Regions from separate parts of the Homo sapiens genome. Here region 2 is linked to region 1. The links are contacts of gene promoters, found by promoter capture Hi-C in human tissues and cell types (Jung and others, 2019). All regions are on one chromosome and are shown on one strand. The core of a region is centred on a gene start or on the middle of the fragment in contact, and the rest is flanking DNA. Distances in the headings are between cores, read along the strand shown.

Evidence for each region. Contacts are between HindIII fragments. The study calls those that stand out against the background at their distance.
Region 2: a fragment that was not itself captured here is called in contact with the fragment with the promoter of ZP4 in region 1 in 2 of the 25 tissues and cell types used here (adrenal gland and pancreas).

What each region holds. Positions count from the first base shown.
Region 1 is chr1:237,886,145-237,893,631 of GRCh38, reverse strand. It overlaps ZP4 (zona pellucida glycoprotein 4), which reads left to right and starts at 2,710. Exons shown (of 12, transcript NM_021186.5): 1 at 2,710-3,171; 2 at 3,456-3,577; 3 at 3,663-3,765; 4 at 5,122-5,274; 5 at 6,071-6,258; 6 at 6,764-6,861. The coding sequence starts at 2,997. It also overlaps the pseudogene LOC100130331. The HindIII fragment of the contact is 12,268 bases long and covers 1-7,487 here.
Region 2 is chr1:237,962,283-237,969,769 of GRCh38, reverse strand. No RefSeq gene overlaps it. Among named protein-coding and RNA genes, the nearest start is that of ZP4, 75 kb to the right of the region's middle. The HindIII fragment of the contact is 4,627 bases long and covers 1,974-6,600 here.

The DNA.
Region 1 (7,487 bases), core at 1,461-3,960:
TTCTGTTAAGCCTGGGGCTCCTCGAGGTGGATCACACATTATCAGTGCATTTTCTCATCCCGAAATTAAATGATGATGTTCTTGGAAGATTCAGCAGAGGAATGAGCATAACATTACCTAACCCCAGACCTGCCTGCATTATCTTGGCATCCATCTTTGACCCTCTGCAGCATCAGAGAGATGGGTGTGATCCTAGGTGGACTTCAAGATAGCTCCACATAGTTCCAGGCTTGTGTGATTTTTCAACTTCATTATGTAAACACAGGACCTCATTTGGGAATGCAGCCTCATGAGTATAGGCTGTTCCTCAGACTCCCTGCAGATCCAATGAGTGCACTGCTTGGCATTTGCTTTCCATTTGCCACCCATCTCACCTTTATCTCCCAGGCTGGTCCTGTTGATGTTAGTGACAATGTAGCAATTATGCAACAAGCATTGTACATACATTATTTCATCTAACCGTCTGTTGTAATAATACTGTCCATGTTATTATCCCTATTTTACAGATATAAAAACTGTAACTGAGAGAAAGAGGTTAATACATTGACAGAGGTTGCAGAGTAACAGTCAGAATTTGTACCCAAGTCCACCCATTGTCAAAACTCACATGATATACTATACTATATTGCCTCCAAGTATGAGCAAAGGAAGTTACGCTCCTTGACTTTTCACCACTTTATAAAGCTGTTGGGAACAGGCCCCCCAAAATCTGGCCATAAGCTGGCCCCAAAACTGGCCATAAACAAAATCTCTGCAGCACTGTGACATGTTCGTGATGGTCGTGATGGCCATGATGCCCACGCTGCAAGGTTATGGGTCTACCGGAATAAGGGCAAGGAACCCCAGACCCACCCAGGATGGAAAACCGCTTAAAAGTGTTCTTAAACCACAAATAGCATGAGTGATCTGTGCCTTAAGGACATGCTCCTGCTGCAGATAACTAGCCAGAGCTCATCCCTTTATTTCAGCCCATCCCTTTGTTTCCCATAAGGAAGACTTTTAGTTAATCTATAATCTATAGAAACAATGCTTATCACTGGCTTGCTGTCAGTAAATATGTGGGTAAATCTCTGTTCGAGGCTCTCAGCTCTGAAGGCTGTGAGACCCCTGATTTCCCACTCTACACCTCTATATTTGTGTGTGTGTGTGTGTCTTTATTCCTCTAGCATCCCTGGGTTAGGGTCTCCCCGACTGAGCTGGTCTCAGCATAAAGCAATATTAGTAAGTCTAGTCAGGAGACTGGCCTTTTAACTCCTGAGACATCTTGCATGAGTCAAATCCTCAGATTCTTTCTTACATGTGCAATCACATGATATTTACTTGAAGGAAAAATACCTAAGGGTTATGAGTTTGAGCTCATCATAAAGGAAATGAATTTGTACCGGTGAGGTTTGGAAACTACATTTTCAAGGGGGTTAGCCCTAGGACATGGCCACTAATGAAAGCATATTCATTGATTCAGTCTTTACTCAGAGAACACTGAGTACATACATCCAAGGCACGCAGGATGCAGTGACAAATAAAAAAGTCCCTGGCCTCACGTGCTTCTAGTGGCAAACTGAATAAGAAAGAGGTCATTACAATCCAACCTGGCAAATCCTGTGAGTAAATGGCATGTAATAACCCAGTGGTGAGCACCTAATCCAGGTAGACGGTGTCAGGGAAGCCACATCTGTCTTTGAGGGCAGAGTCCAGCTTTCCTTCAATGTCATTTTTCATCATGTGGTTAAAAGGGCCACCAATTTTCCCAGGAAGACACATACTTATTTGTCCTCTGTGATGAGTTGAAGAGAACTAGAGATACCTAGTTACACATTCTCAGTGCTTTGACTACAATTTTTAGTCAACCGAAAAATATCAGTCTAAATACAATCAGGGTACAATTTGGGAATATTGGTGGCAGACTGCAGAAGACAAGTTTCCATGCTCTTGCCTCTCCAGTGGGGAATGTATCCATTTATCCCCAAATCTCTTAGAATTTCTCTACAATCTGGTCTGACACTCTAGCTTAAAGAGTGACCAAAGTATATAACTTGTAGTTTATGTGGAAAACAAAAATGTAGAAAGCAAGCAAGAAACCCTGACATCTTTATGAAATATGCCTGAAACACAGCCGAAAGATAAAATTGTCAAATAGCTGTAAGAGGCAGAACCAGTTTGAGGAATTCATGGCCTAATCCACATTTCCCCCAGATCCTGTGGGGAAACACTGTAGGACAGTTATGGCAATGAACCACTTTGGAATTTGTTGAAAGATTGCTGTGGTAGGATTCCCTCTAAGGACCAGGAAAGGGTTCAAAATCAACCTTTCTCAGGAAATAAGTTTAGATTTTTTTCTAGAATTTCAAGACAGGCTCTAATCGTACAGAAACTTTTCTAGAATGGATGGAGAAGGTGACAAGGCTTCTCAAGGGCCCCAACTCTCACCCGACAATGTTGACTGAGCACTCACTGCTTGGCCAAGCACTGTGCCAGGCACCTGACATAGAATCTCTTGCTTAATCCTCAAGCACACCACTGCCAGGAGATAGCATTCCCATTTTACAGATGAGAAAACCAAGATTCAGAGAGTTTGTAACGTACCCAGACCCCATAGTTCATAGATGGTAGTTTCACACCCAAATGTGCAAAATTCTAGAGGGAGGTCTTCTGAAGTCAATAAGTTCAATAAACTGGTGGGACAAATGCTATGTTGAGCAACCCTGAGGAAGCTTTCTTTCCTTCCTTTCTGTTAGCTAAAAGTTACTACATTTTTCTTGGGCTCTGAAGTCTGCCTGGATTGTGGTATTTAATGTGAGGCAGCTGCAGACTGTGCCCCAAAGCAAATGAGGCTAGAGGAATTCCCCTTTCTGAAGGCATCCCACCTGAGTGTCACAAAGATGTGCAGCTGAAAACAAGCCTGACTTCTGTATATAAAGGAATCTGGGCAGGCAGACCCTCGGCTCTTGGGAGAGGAGGCGGAGAGTCTGCAGCCGGCAGGAACTCCTGGTAGCATTATGTGGCTGCTGCGGTGCGTTTTGCTGTGTGTTTCATTATCTCTTGCTGTGAGTGGCCAGCATAAGCCTGAGGCACCAGATTATTCCAGTGTGCTCCACTGTGGGCCGTGGAGCTTCCAGTTTGCTGTAAACCTCAACCAGGAGGCAACGTCTCCTCCTGTACTAATAGCTTGGGGTAAGTTTGATGACTTGCCTTGCTTAGCCAAGCAATGATATGTCTCCTCTACTACCTAAGATGTCTCCCTATCTTCCCGTATTGATACTTTCACCTTCTGAGCCCTGTTGCATCTTTCTGCAAAAGAAATAGTCTAAGTTATAACTACATCTGATCTGAATCTGATTTCCCTCTTGTTCCTCTTATTGACAGTTGCTCCTTGGGGTCTAATGGCAAGGCTGACTATCCTTTCTGGCACTGGAGACTGACCGCTGTGTTTTCTCACCTCTTCCCCACCCCTCCAGACAACCAAGGGCTGCTGCACGAGCTGCAGAATGACTCCGACTGTGGCACCTGGATAAGAAAAGGTCCAGGCAGCTCCGTGGTGTTGGAGGCAACCTATAGCAGCTGCTATGTCACTGAGTGGGTGAGTATGACCCAATGGCCAGGGAGACTGTGTGAAGCGCCTCATGCTACCATCCAGGCTGACCCCCAAGGGCCTGTCTCTCCAGGACTCCCACTACATCATGCCAGTTGGAGTTGAAGGAGCAGGCGCGGCTGAACACAAGGTGGTTACAGAGAGGAAGCTGCTCAAGTGTCCTATGGATCTTCTAGGTAAAGGCTGGAAGCTCTCAGGGTCTTGTGGGGGTGGTGGGGGTGGGGTGTGAAAGTACTCTTGGTCCTCTCTGACCTGCTCTGTGCAGTGACACCTGACACTAATGAAGGAAGGATCATGTCCCAACTCTCACCTCCATGGGCAATCCTTAGGATAACTACCAATTGAGACTCCTCAATGCCAAGGCACTGTGGGTAAGCACTTCAGGTGTTACCTTCCCTAACCCTAACATAGTGCTGCAAATACTACTGCTGGCCAGGCACAGTGGCTCACACCTGTAATCACAGCACTTTGGGAGGCTGAGGCAGGTGGATCAGGTCGGGAGTTGGAGTCCAGCCTGACCAACATGGAGAAACCCCATCTCTACTAAAAACACACAATCAGCCGGGTGTGGTGGTACATGCCTGTAATCCCAGCTACTCGGGAGGCTGAGGCAGGAGAATCGCTTGAACCTGGGAGGCTGAGGTTGTGGTGAGCTGAGATCGTGCCCTTGCACTACAGCCTGGGCAACAAGAGCGAAACCCTGTCTCAAAAAAAAAAAAAAAAAAAATACAACCTATCTCTTGCCAGGAAGTTTTCCCAAGGGCCTATCACTGGTGAATGACTGAGCTGGGATTCAAAGAACTCTCCCAGAACCAGGAGCTTTTCACCCATGGGGAGAATGATAGGAAATAAAACTGAAGCTAGCAAGGGAACTTGGAAAAATACCTCCACAGAGCTAGATGTGCACTGAGACTAGGACCCAGGTCTTCCATCCCACAAGCTGGAGGGGTATCTGAGCATTTCCCTAAGGAAACAGCAGGAAGTATGATGCCTACTCAACTTTAGAAAGTCTCGCCTGACTGAGAGCCCGTCCTCAAAGTCAGAACAGACTCAAACTATAAATTCACTCTTCTCACCTGCCTTCCTTCCCAATACATAGCCAGGATGGGCAGCACTAATAAAATGAGGAATCATAGGCCCCACCCCAGTTCTGAACCAGACCTGAACTCAAAAACAATCTTCAGATAACTCATATCCAAACTAAGGCTTGAGAAACGCCTCTAAAGAACAGAAGGAAGGATTGTTACTGGAAGGAGTAAGAAACCCCCCAACTGCTTCTACCAATTTTGTTGACATTCTTGTTTTTAAAAAACTAATAGCAGGGCACTCTTACAAGGTGACTTAATGTTGACAACCTCCCAAGACTTAATCTACAACATGTAACCTCTCAATACTATCTACAATATGGAGTAGACACCTATTTCAATCATCTACATATCTACAGGAATCCAAAGTCAATGACTTGTATCAAAATGGTATTCAAGACTAACTTTTCCATTATCTAACCTGACTTACTCTTTTTCAAAACCTAGCCCGAGATGCTCCAGATACTGACTGGTGTGACTCCATCCCAGCACGGGACAGACTGCCATGTGCACCTTCACCCATCTCTCGAGGAGACTGTGAAGGGCTAGGCTGTTGTTATAGCTCTGAAGAGGTGAATTCCTGCTACTATGGAAACACTGGTGAGTAAGTGAGCACACCTCTGAAACCAGCTGAGGAAGTGTGGCAATTACAATGAAACCCAGAGAGGGGTTTGCTCAGAAGGCAAACATCAAGTGATAGCAGGCTGCCATGTAGCCATGCATCCAAGAACACTTGATCCCAATGTAACAGACTTCTACAACTCCCACTGTCCATTCTCCCAGAATCCAGATATAAAGTCAATAACGCTCAGACTTGAAGGCTATGTGCCAGATAATTGCTAGTGCCAGATAACTTCTAACTGACAGAAACTTATAGCGACTTTGGCTGATGGTCTTGGATTGTTTAGGGAGAGTCACTTCAAGGCTGTTGCTTTCTGCTTGTCTCTAATCCTGCTCTGAGGTTTTCTAACATAAACTTGACCTCAGAGTATGTATAGGTTGGTACAGGAGGAATCCCGGCTTTTGCCATTGTGGCAAAGGCTGCAATTACTTCTCTACCAACCTAATAATCGCACACGCTATTCCAAGATCTTAATCTTAACTGACAAGCAAAATGAGGTAGGAACTACTATCCCCCTCTTAACACATGAAACTGAAGCAAGGAGGTGCAATACTTGCCTGAGGTCACACAATAAGTCAGGGAGGCAAGACTCAACCCCAGATCATTTAGAGCCTGGGTTAAACTGTGGTTGGTTGATCTTGCACTGAGGTTGTCACTGGGAAGTTGTCACCAGCTTCTCAGTGGGATTAAAAGTAACTAAGTGGTTAGACTTTCATCTGGTTCTCCCCACAATGGGAGAGATGACCTGCCTTCAGCACAGCTGCTCTGTTTCAGTGACCTTGCATTGTACCCGAGAGGGCCATTTCTCTATTGCTGTGTCTCGGAACGTGACCTCGCCACCACTGCTCTTGGATTCTGTGCGCTTGGCCCTTAGGAATGACAGTGCGTGTAACCCTGTGATGGCAACACAAGCTTTTGTTCTGTTCCAGTTTCCATTTACTTCCTGTGGCACCACAAGACAGGTGAGCAGTTGGGCTTTGTTCCTGGCTCTGGAAGTTGGGTGGGAAGGTTGTAGTGACTAGTGGGGGAGAGCTGAAATATGTTGGCCGTGAACGATACTTGTGACTACTACTTGGAGTTTGGGAGAGTCCCTAGGGCAGGAGAATGCCTCATCACTGAAAAAGTTAATCTCTTCTGGGTGTTCAGCTAAGACCATCACAGCTGTGATCTAGCTAAGGGGCTGTCATTTACCGTGCTATAGAGAAGAAACCAGCAGGGATGCTGACTGGAATTGGTAGTGCTTCAGCTGCCTCTCCTAGGTGCTCAAATTCCTTCTTATTCCTTTGTCCTGAGATAAGGCGAAGTGATAACTTGCCAGGATGTCACTGCTATGTGTTCTTACCTCTGCTGAAGTAATAGGAAATATACCATACAACAGGGTAGCATTGCTGAGGGCTTAGACCAGATGCAAGTCAAGCAGCATAACACTAACAGAAATGATCAAGACTTCTCCATCTATTCCTGTAGATCACTGGAGACCGAGCAGTATATGAAAATGAACTGGTGGCAACTAGGGATGTGAAAAATGGGAGCCGTGGCTCTGTCACTCGTGACAGCATCTTCAGGTAAGGGCTTGGCCAGAATGACTTCCCATCTGCCATAAGGTGGGCATTCTCAGGTAAGCCCTGAATCCACAAATGAGCATTCCTCAGCAATAGGAGAAAACCTGTCTGCTACCTTGGTTCACCAATTGCACTGCCCATTACTTGATTAGGTCCATCTGTGTTGCTGTCTCCAACCCGACCTAAGCCTCAAGCTCACCTGGAGTTCTGCTATTTCACTTAACTAGATTTTTTTCTCATTTTGGCCTTCTCCATTCTACATTTCAGCCTACATTTCTCCATTCTACATCTGGCCTTCTCCACTGTCCATGCTGTAGCCAAAAGAATTCCTTTAAAACCTTAAGTCAGTCAAATCACACACCTTAAAGCCATGGACAAAAAAAAAAAATCTTTAAGATGAACATCAGGACCCTGCATAAAACAGCTCCTACTTCATCTCCAGCCTGTTCACTTCTAACATTCTCAGTCCCTTACTCACTATTCCCCGATTGCAGCCTGGTTCTTCTATGGAATTCTCAAAGGGCCTCAAGCACTTCCTTGCCTCCAGGCTTTGCTCTATATTGGGTGACGCTTTCCCTGTACCTCAAGTTTTTCTTTCACCTTCATATCAAGGGTACCTCTAAGGTCTT
Region 2 (7,487 bases), core at 3,038-5,537, 75 kb before region 1:
TCCAGGAGTTTCTTGCCTTTTTCCTCCCAGATAAGAGCTTCATAGTTTAGAAAAACTTTCAGCTATCTGTGATCCGTTTCTCCTCATCCTTCATTTTTAAGCTGCCTACACCATGCACCAGTTCATGGGTTTCCCCCTCCTTGGATTTACCCTCTTTCCACTTTGGTTCTCTGTCTACCCAGTACTCTTCTCTTACTTCTACCCACCCCAAAGTACACACACTTTTTTTCTGAGAATACAAGGAAAAGACTCAGATATATGGACTTTAAGGTTTAAAAACATAATATGAAATACTGCAAGGAGAAACTATCTTATTTGACTCCCAGCATCTAGAACTACCCCTTGATTAAAATAAGCAGTCCGTGATTTTTACATGGTGACTTTATTAACTACCTGGTGCCTTATCTAGAGAAAACCATAGGAAGAAGTTGGGCCAGGATAGGCCTAGTTGGCGTCTGTTGTCCCAGCATGATTATAAATACTGTCTCTTCTTGCTTTCACAAACTCACAGTGTCCAATTTGCTGCAAGTCTGAGCAGCAAACTTGTTTGATCACCTTATCTAACTTATATTTTATATAGTTCCAAGCCAGACTAAAACTCTTTGAGGTGATGTATATTTTAATCTCTGTAATAACATTAGAAGTATAATGAAAGCATGCATGATTATAAAGTGAAAGAAGGAGAATAAAATAATTAAAAGCAACTTGACTAATCTAAAAACAAACAAGAAATGAGAAAAATAAGCAAAGAACAGGTGGGACAAATAAAAAAGAAACAGATGACAGGTATAAATAATATTACATCAGTATTCTACCAAATATGTGTAATTTAAGTACTCCAATAAAAAAGCTTGTAAGACTGGAGATTTGGGTTTTTGTTTTGTTTTGTTTTAAGACAGAGTCTCGCTGTGTTGCCCAGTGTGGAGTGCAGTAGCAAGATCTCAGCTCACTGAAACCTCCACCTCCCAGGTTCAAGTGATTCTCCTACCTCAGCCTCCTAAGTAGCTGGGATTACAGGTGCCCACCACCGCACCTGGCTAATTTTGTATTTTTAGTAGAGATGGGGTTTTACATTATTGGCCAATCTGGTCTTGAACTCCTGGCCTCAAGTGATCTGCCTGCCTTGGCCTCCCAAAGTGCTGGGATTACGGGTGTGAGTCACTGCGCCTGGCCAGATTTAGGGTTTTTTATTTTCACTTCTACTATGTGCTGCTTATAAGAGAGACACAGAAAGTTTGAAGGAAAAAAAAAACCAAACAGAAGATTTATTATGTAAACACTTATCAAAAGAAAGATCACGACTCTACCAATATTAGATAAGTACATTTTAAGGGAAGAAGTATTGTTAAGTATCAAAAAAGATGGTTTATAATGGTCAATTCTAAATAAGGATATAACAATCTGAAAATTGTAATCACCAAATAACATAGCCTATAATACATTAAGTTAAAATAACACAACTTAAAAGAAGTAGACAAATGTACATTTCTAGTTAGAGATATTAACACACTTCTCTTAGAAACTGACAGAAAATAGATAAGTCAGAAGAGACACAAAATTAAAACAATTAACATACATGCTATGATTAACATATTGTAAAAGAAAAATGAATCTTGGGACCCCAAAATCACTAGGCCAAGGGAAAGTCAAGCTGGGACCTGTGTCGGGCAAAACTGTCTCCCATTTTATTCCTAAAAAAAATAGCTAAAAGATAAAAAAAAAAAAAAAAAAAAAAAAAAAAAAAGAAAAGAAAAAGCTACATAACTCCTTCACAATTTGCCCACAAGATCTTTACCGTAAAAAAGTTCTGTTGGATTTTCCCCCGCAATGTAAAAATTGGTAGCTTATCTTCACAGGTGCGGGACAAGGGACAGAACTCAAAGTCATCCCCCTGCTCACCTGAGACAAATGCCTGTCACATTGTTTCCTCTACCCTATTGTTTATATAAAAATTTACATCATTCACTGAGATTCACTCTGATTCACTGAGCCACACTAGGGCATAAGTGATTATTTCTCTACCCCTCCCACATGTAAATTGTGTATTTAGTGAAAGGCTGGCCAAAGACCCCAAAAAATGCAGCCTTCTGTCTCTTATCTACTTACCGCCTAGAAGACCCCCACTTCAAGTTGTTCTGCCTTTGTGGACTGAACCAATGTATATCTTACACATATTGATTGATGTCTCATGTCTCCCTAAAATGTAACCCAAATATACAACCAAGCTGTACCCCAGCCACCTTCGGCATATGTTGTCAGGACCTCTTGAGGCTGTCAGGGGCACGTCCTTAATCTTGGCAAAATAAACTTTCCAAATTGATTGAGACCTGTCTCAGATACTTTTGGGCTCATAAAAGAAAAGAACACCGAACAGCTGTCAAATACACCTTCTTTTAAAATATACACAGAACATTTGCTGAAGTTAGCCATAAATGGGGCCTAAACCAAGCCTCAAAATATTCAGTATTGAAATCTCATAGATTATTTTTTCCAAGCATAGTGGAATAAGCTAGAATTCAATAACAAAAAGGTAGCCAGAACATCTTCAAATATTTGGAAACCAACAATCTTAGATATGGGTCATAGAAAAAAATCACAATGAAAATTACAAGGTATTTTTAACTAAATACTAGTGTAAGTAAGACATACCAAAACTTGTGGACTGCAGCTTAACCCATGCTTTCTGGAAAACTTGTAGTTTTAAATAAAAATATTATTAAAGAAGAAAGACTGAAAAATCAATGCACTAATAATTCAACTCCAAAAGCTAGAAAATAAACAGCAAATGTAAAACAGAGAATGTAGGATCAATAAAACAATAAAGAAAATAAATAGAAAACAAACATACAACAGAGAAAAATAGAAACGGAGTTTCATTAAAACTAATGTTGTTTCTTTTCAAAGGTATATAAAATGTATAAACCCAAACAGGACTAAACAAAAAAAAGAAAGAGAGTATAAATAATCTCAAGAATGAAAAGGAGGCCATTCCTAAGATCCCAGAGACATTAAAAAGAAATCAGAAAAGAGAACAACTCTTCTTTGCAGAAGAATTCCATATAATATATGTACATACTGCCCCTATGGACAGTGAAGCTTAATTCTCTTCTTTTTCTCTTTTTAACTTTTAGGTTCAAGGGTACAAATGAAGGTTTGTTACACAGGTAAACTTATGTCTCGAGGGTTTGTTGTAGAGATTATTTCACCACCCAGGTATTAAGCCTAGTACCCAACTGTTATCTTTTCTGCTCCTCTCCCTCCCCTGACCCTCCTGGGGTCAAGTAGACCCCAGTGTCTGTTGCTTCCTTCTTTGTGTTCATAAATTCTTATCATTTAGCTCCCATTTATAAGCAAGAATACAATCATATTTGGTTTTCTGTCCCTGCGTTAGTTTGCTAAGGATAATAGCCTCCAGCTCCATCCATGTTCTCCTTTTTTAGAAGGTAGGCAGGACTTAATGACTCAATTCCAAAGAACAAAATATAGAAAGGGAAAAAGAGTAATTCTACAGTGAAGAAGCATGGCAGACACCAAACTAATTTGTCAAAAATTACAGAAATAGCCAGCACATTAACTCAAATATGTTACTTAGCAAAGCCAAGACCCCCCAGATCATGCCTACGTTACTACAAGAAATAAATGTATTTTTCACATTATTAATTTGCCTCCTACAGAATATTTTCTTTGCTATAATATCTCCTAGTCTTTGATCTTCTTTTTCTTCTGTTCCTTATAAAACTGTACAACTGAAACATAAACAGTACCTACAAAATTATTGAGGTAGGTTGCAAAAGGTGGCCCTAAATGCTTCCCATCCCTGTAAGCACAGTTCTTTACAGTGTGATTTCTGTAGTTTCTCCCACCAAGGGTTGGACTCTATTTCTCTTCCACCTGAATGTAGGCTTGGCCCTTATCCTGACTTGGCCAGTGAGACAATAGCAAATATAAGCAGAGACTTGGAACCTTGAAATCATCATGTGAAAGGTCTAAATTAGCCTGCTGAAAGAGGAGAGGCCTTATGCAGCAGTGATAGGCTGCCTCAACTGAGGCCTCCTCTTGGGATCAACCAGTCTCTGAATGCCATATGTGTGGGCGAGGCCACTGGACACTATCAAGCCCCAGTTGAACCAGTCTTGACTACAAATCTATAACAAATGCTTATTATTTTAAGCCACTAAGTTTTGGAATGGACTGTTAGACAACAAAAGGTAACTGATACAATCATATTTTCTGCTTTTTATCTCCTTTGAGATAGTCATTACAAAAAAAAATTCTATCAATCAGATTCCCACTATTATGGTTTCTTTACTACACATCTGTGAGTATAGCCATATTCCAGAGTTTAGGCCCAATCCTGACCCCAAATGTTGACATAAGTCCTAGAGCAATTATGCACATGCCCAGCATTGAGTTAGTCTTGTCACAGGTCTTCTCCAGATTTGGGGGCCTCTGCTTCTCGAAGCCCCTGGTTCATTGCCTCGGAGTCAGTCCTTGATTGAAGTAATTTCATTAAATGTCCTAAATACATCCCTATGCCAAGAACTATGCTTGAGGGTAAAGACACAAAGAATAAGACACAACTCTGCTCTTGAGAAGGTATTGAGATGGTGTTGAGATGGAGCAGGGACCCCTCTTAGAGGCTTGCCAGGGCAAGGAGGCAAGCAAGGAAATAAAGGAAAAACTTGAGTTCCTTCAAGGAAATTCCAGGCACCTAGCCAGCTCCGAGAAGTAAATGAGCAACCTGATAAGCAAGAAAGTAATAATAGCTTAAAACAATAGCCAAGGAAGCTAGAATCACAAAATGTTTGGTTCCCTATAGAAACTAAAGATAGGTGGCCATGGTGACATGCACCTGTAGTCCCAGCTACTCAGGTGGCTGAGGTGGGAGAATTGCTTGAGTCCAGGAGATCGAGGCTACAGTGAGTCGTGATTGCATTGCACCACTGCACTCCAGCCTGAGCAACAGAGTGAGACCTTGTCTCAAAAAAAAAAAAAAAAAGAAAAAAAAAAGAAAAAGAAACTAAAGATAAAAATCTAACATCCCTGAGTTGTTTTTCAGAAACCTGGACCCCCACCAAATTGATTCACTGGCACACAGACCTCACGTGAGAGGGAACTGAAGACTGAACTCTGACTGCCTTTCTTTGTTCTAAATTTCTTCCTGAGGGGCCTGGTGGAAGTCACACCCGTAGAACAGACCTTAATATTCTTTTCTGCTGACCTCAAGATTTTAGACAAAGCTTCATTTCCTTAACCAATCACAAATCAGAGAGTCTTTGAATCCACCTATGACCTGGAATACCCCCTCTTGACTTCAAGATATCCTACCTTTTAGGCCAAACCAATGTATAATCTCCATGTATTGGTTTATGATTTTGCCTGTAACTTCTGCTTTCCTGAAATTTACTCCTGACTATAAAAACCATTGCTTGCCAGCCATCGGGGATGTCGGGACTTAAGCATTAGCTGCCTGATTCTCCTTGCTTGGCACCCTGCAAATAAATGCCCTCCTTTCTCCCACTGCAAAATCTTGGTGCTGCTTGTTTGGCTTTCCTGTGCCTGGTGAGTGAGCAGACCCCAGTTCCGTTTGGTAACAGTGTCTGGACAGACAAGTATACCAAGAGGCAAAATTGAGACAGTATTGCCTAGCAGAAGGCAATATTTAACTAATACCTCAATTCATCACTGACAGACTTTTGCCTGTTTGTCAGAGACTCTGCCTGTCATCTGGGTAAACCAGGCTGTTGTGCCTATGGACACAACCTTCTCACACTGCTGATCTGCCTGCCTCCACTAGCTGCTTGCTCTTTGAAGCTTTAAAATCACAAGCTTCCCTCTGTCCCTGCTGGGATAAAGGTCCTGGGTCTGAGCTTAGTTTGACCCCATTAACTAAGGTACTCATGCCCTCCTGCTTTCCTCCTCGAGGTATGATCTATGTTATCTGAGGCCTCCCACTGGATTTTTTTTTTTTTTTTTTTTTTGAGAGGAGTCTCACTCTGTCACCCAGGCTGGAGTGCACTGGCACGATCTCAGCTCACTGCAACCTCCACCTCCCGGGTTCAAGCAATTCTCCTGCCTCAGCCTCCTGAGTAGCTGGGACTACAGGCACATGCCACCACGCCCAGCTAATTTTTTTTGTATTTTTAGTAGAGACTAAATTGACCAGCCAATTTACCATATTGGCCAGCCTGGTCTCAAACTCCTGACGTTGTGATCCTCCTGCCTTGGCCTCTCAAAGTGCTGGGATTATAGGCATGAGCCACCGCGCCCAGCCCTCCCTCTGGATTTACATCCTAGTTTCCTCTTCGTGGTGTTGAAGCAGTGTCATTGTCTGGGGTAATAGCCACGGTTCATTGTCCCATGGCCATGAAAACTAGGACACAGACACACCAGAGTGAAGTTAAGAGCAGAAGCTTAATAGACAAAAGAAAAGCAGCCCTCTCTGCTGCAAAAAGAGGGGTCCCAGAGAAAAATGGGTTGCTAGTCCTGTGGTGAAATGCATGGGGTTTTACAGAGAGCTTGAGGAACTGGTTTCTGATTTACATAGGGGAGGAAAGATGGGTTGGACCAGGTGTGCCATTTGCATAGCACACAAGAATCTGGCCACCCCCACCCTAATCTTTTATTATGTAGACGGGCTTTCTACCTGGTGGGCACCATGTTGTCTGTTCCTTACTACACACATGCTGACAAAGAAAAAGGAAGACGAAGCCTCCATGTTGAACATGCCTGGCTTCCAGGTAGCCCTTTCACATTGGCACAGCTGCCAGCATTCACCTGTGCAAGCTTCCAGCTCGCTTATCTATTGTCTGCAGCTTGATGTATCAGTCTGCTTTTCATTAGAAAAGAAATAATTTGGGGGCTGCTTTTTATTAAAGGGAAGCTCTGCCGAGGACTCTCTTACTCTCACTCCTCTGCCTAAATAATTTCTTTTGAGCTCCTGCATCAGTGTGACCCCAGCCGATCTCAACCCAGCCCCATGTGTCTGCCTGGATATCTGACTACCTACTTTACCAACAACTCTGGTTCCCTCCCAGTCTAACTCGGAATCCCTGTGCCATCTGCCTCCTTCTCGTGCTATTTGTGGGCACAGCCTCAGACTTTCCATTGCTCCCCACTTAGGCTCTCCCTTATGTACTCCTTCTCTCACTATTTTATGCACTCTATTGCACTGCTTTCCTCTCTTTTAATGCCTTGACCTACCTCATCACTACTGTGATTACTGTAAATATCCAAATTAGAAAATATAATCCCAATATGAATTGGGGCAGAATAACCAAGTCAGTCTATATTGATCAAAATCATTTCTTAAAATGTATTTGTAAGAGAACAAATGATAATTTCAATTGATATTAGAACACCTTTCAGTTTTCTAAATAACAAGAAGATGTGAGAGGATCGTCAGCCTCCCAATGACACATTTATTTGAGGATAATTAAAAGGACAATAGAAGGCAGGGAAGAGCTGGAAACTGGTGCCATGTCACT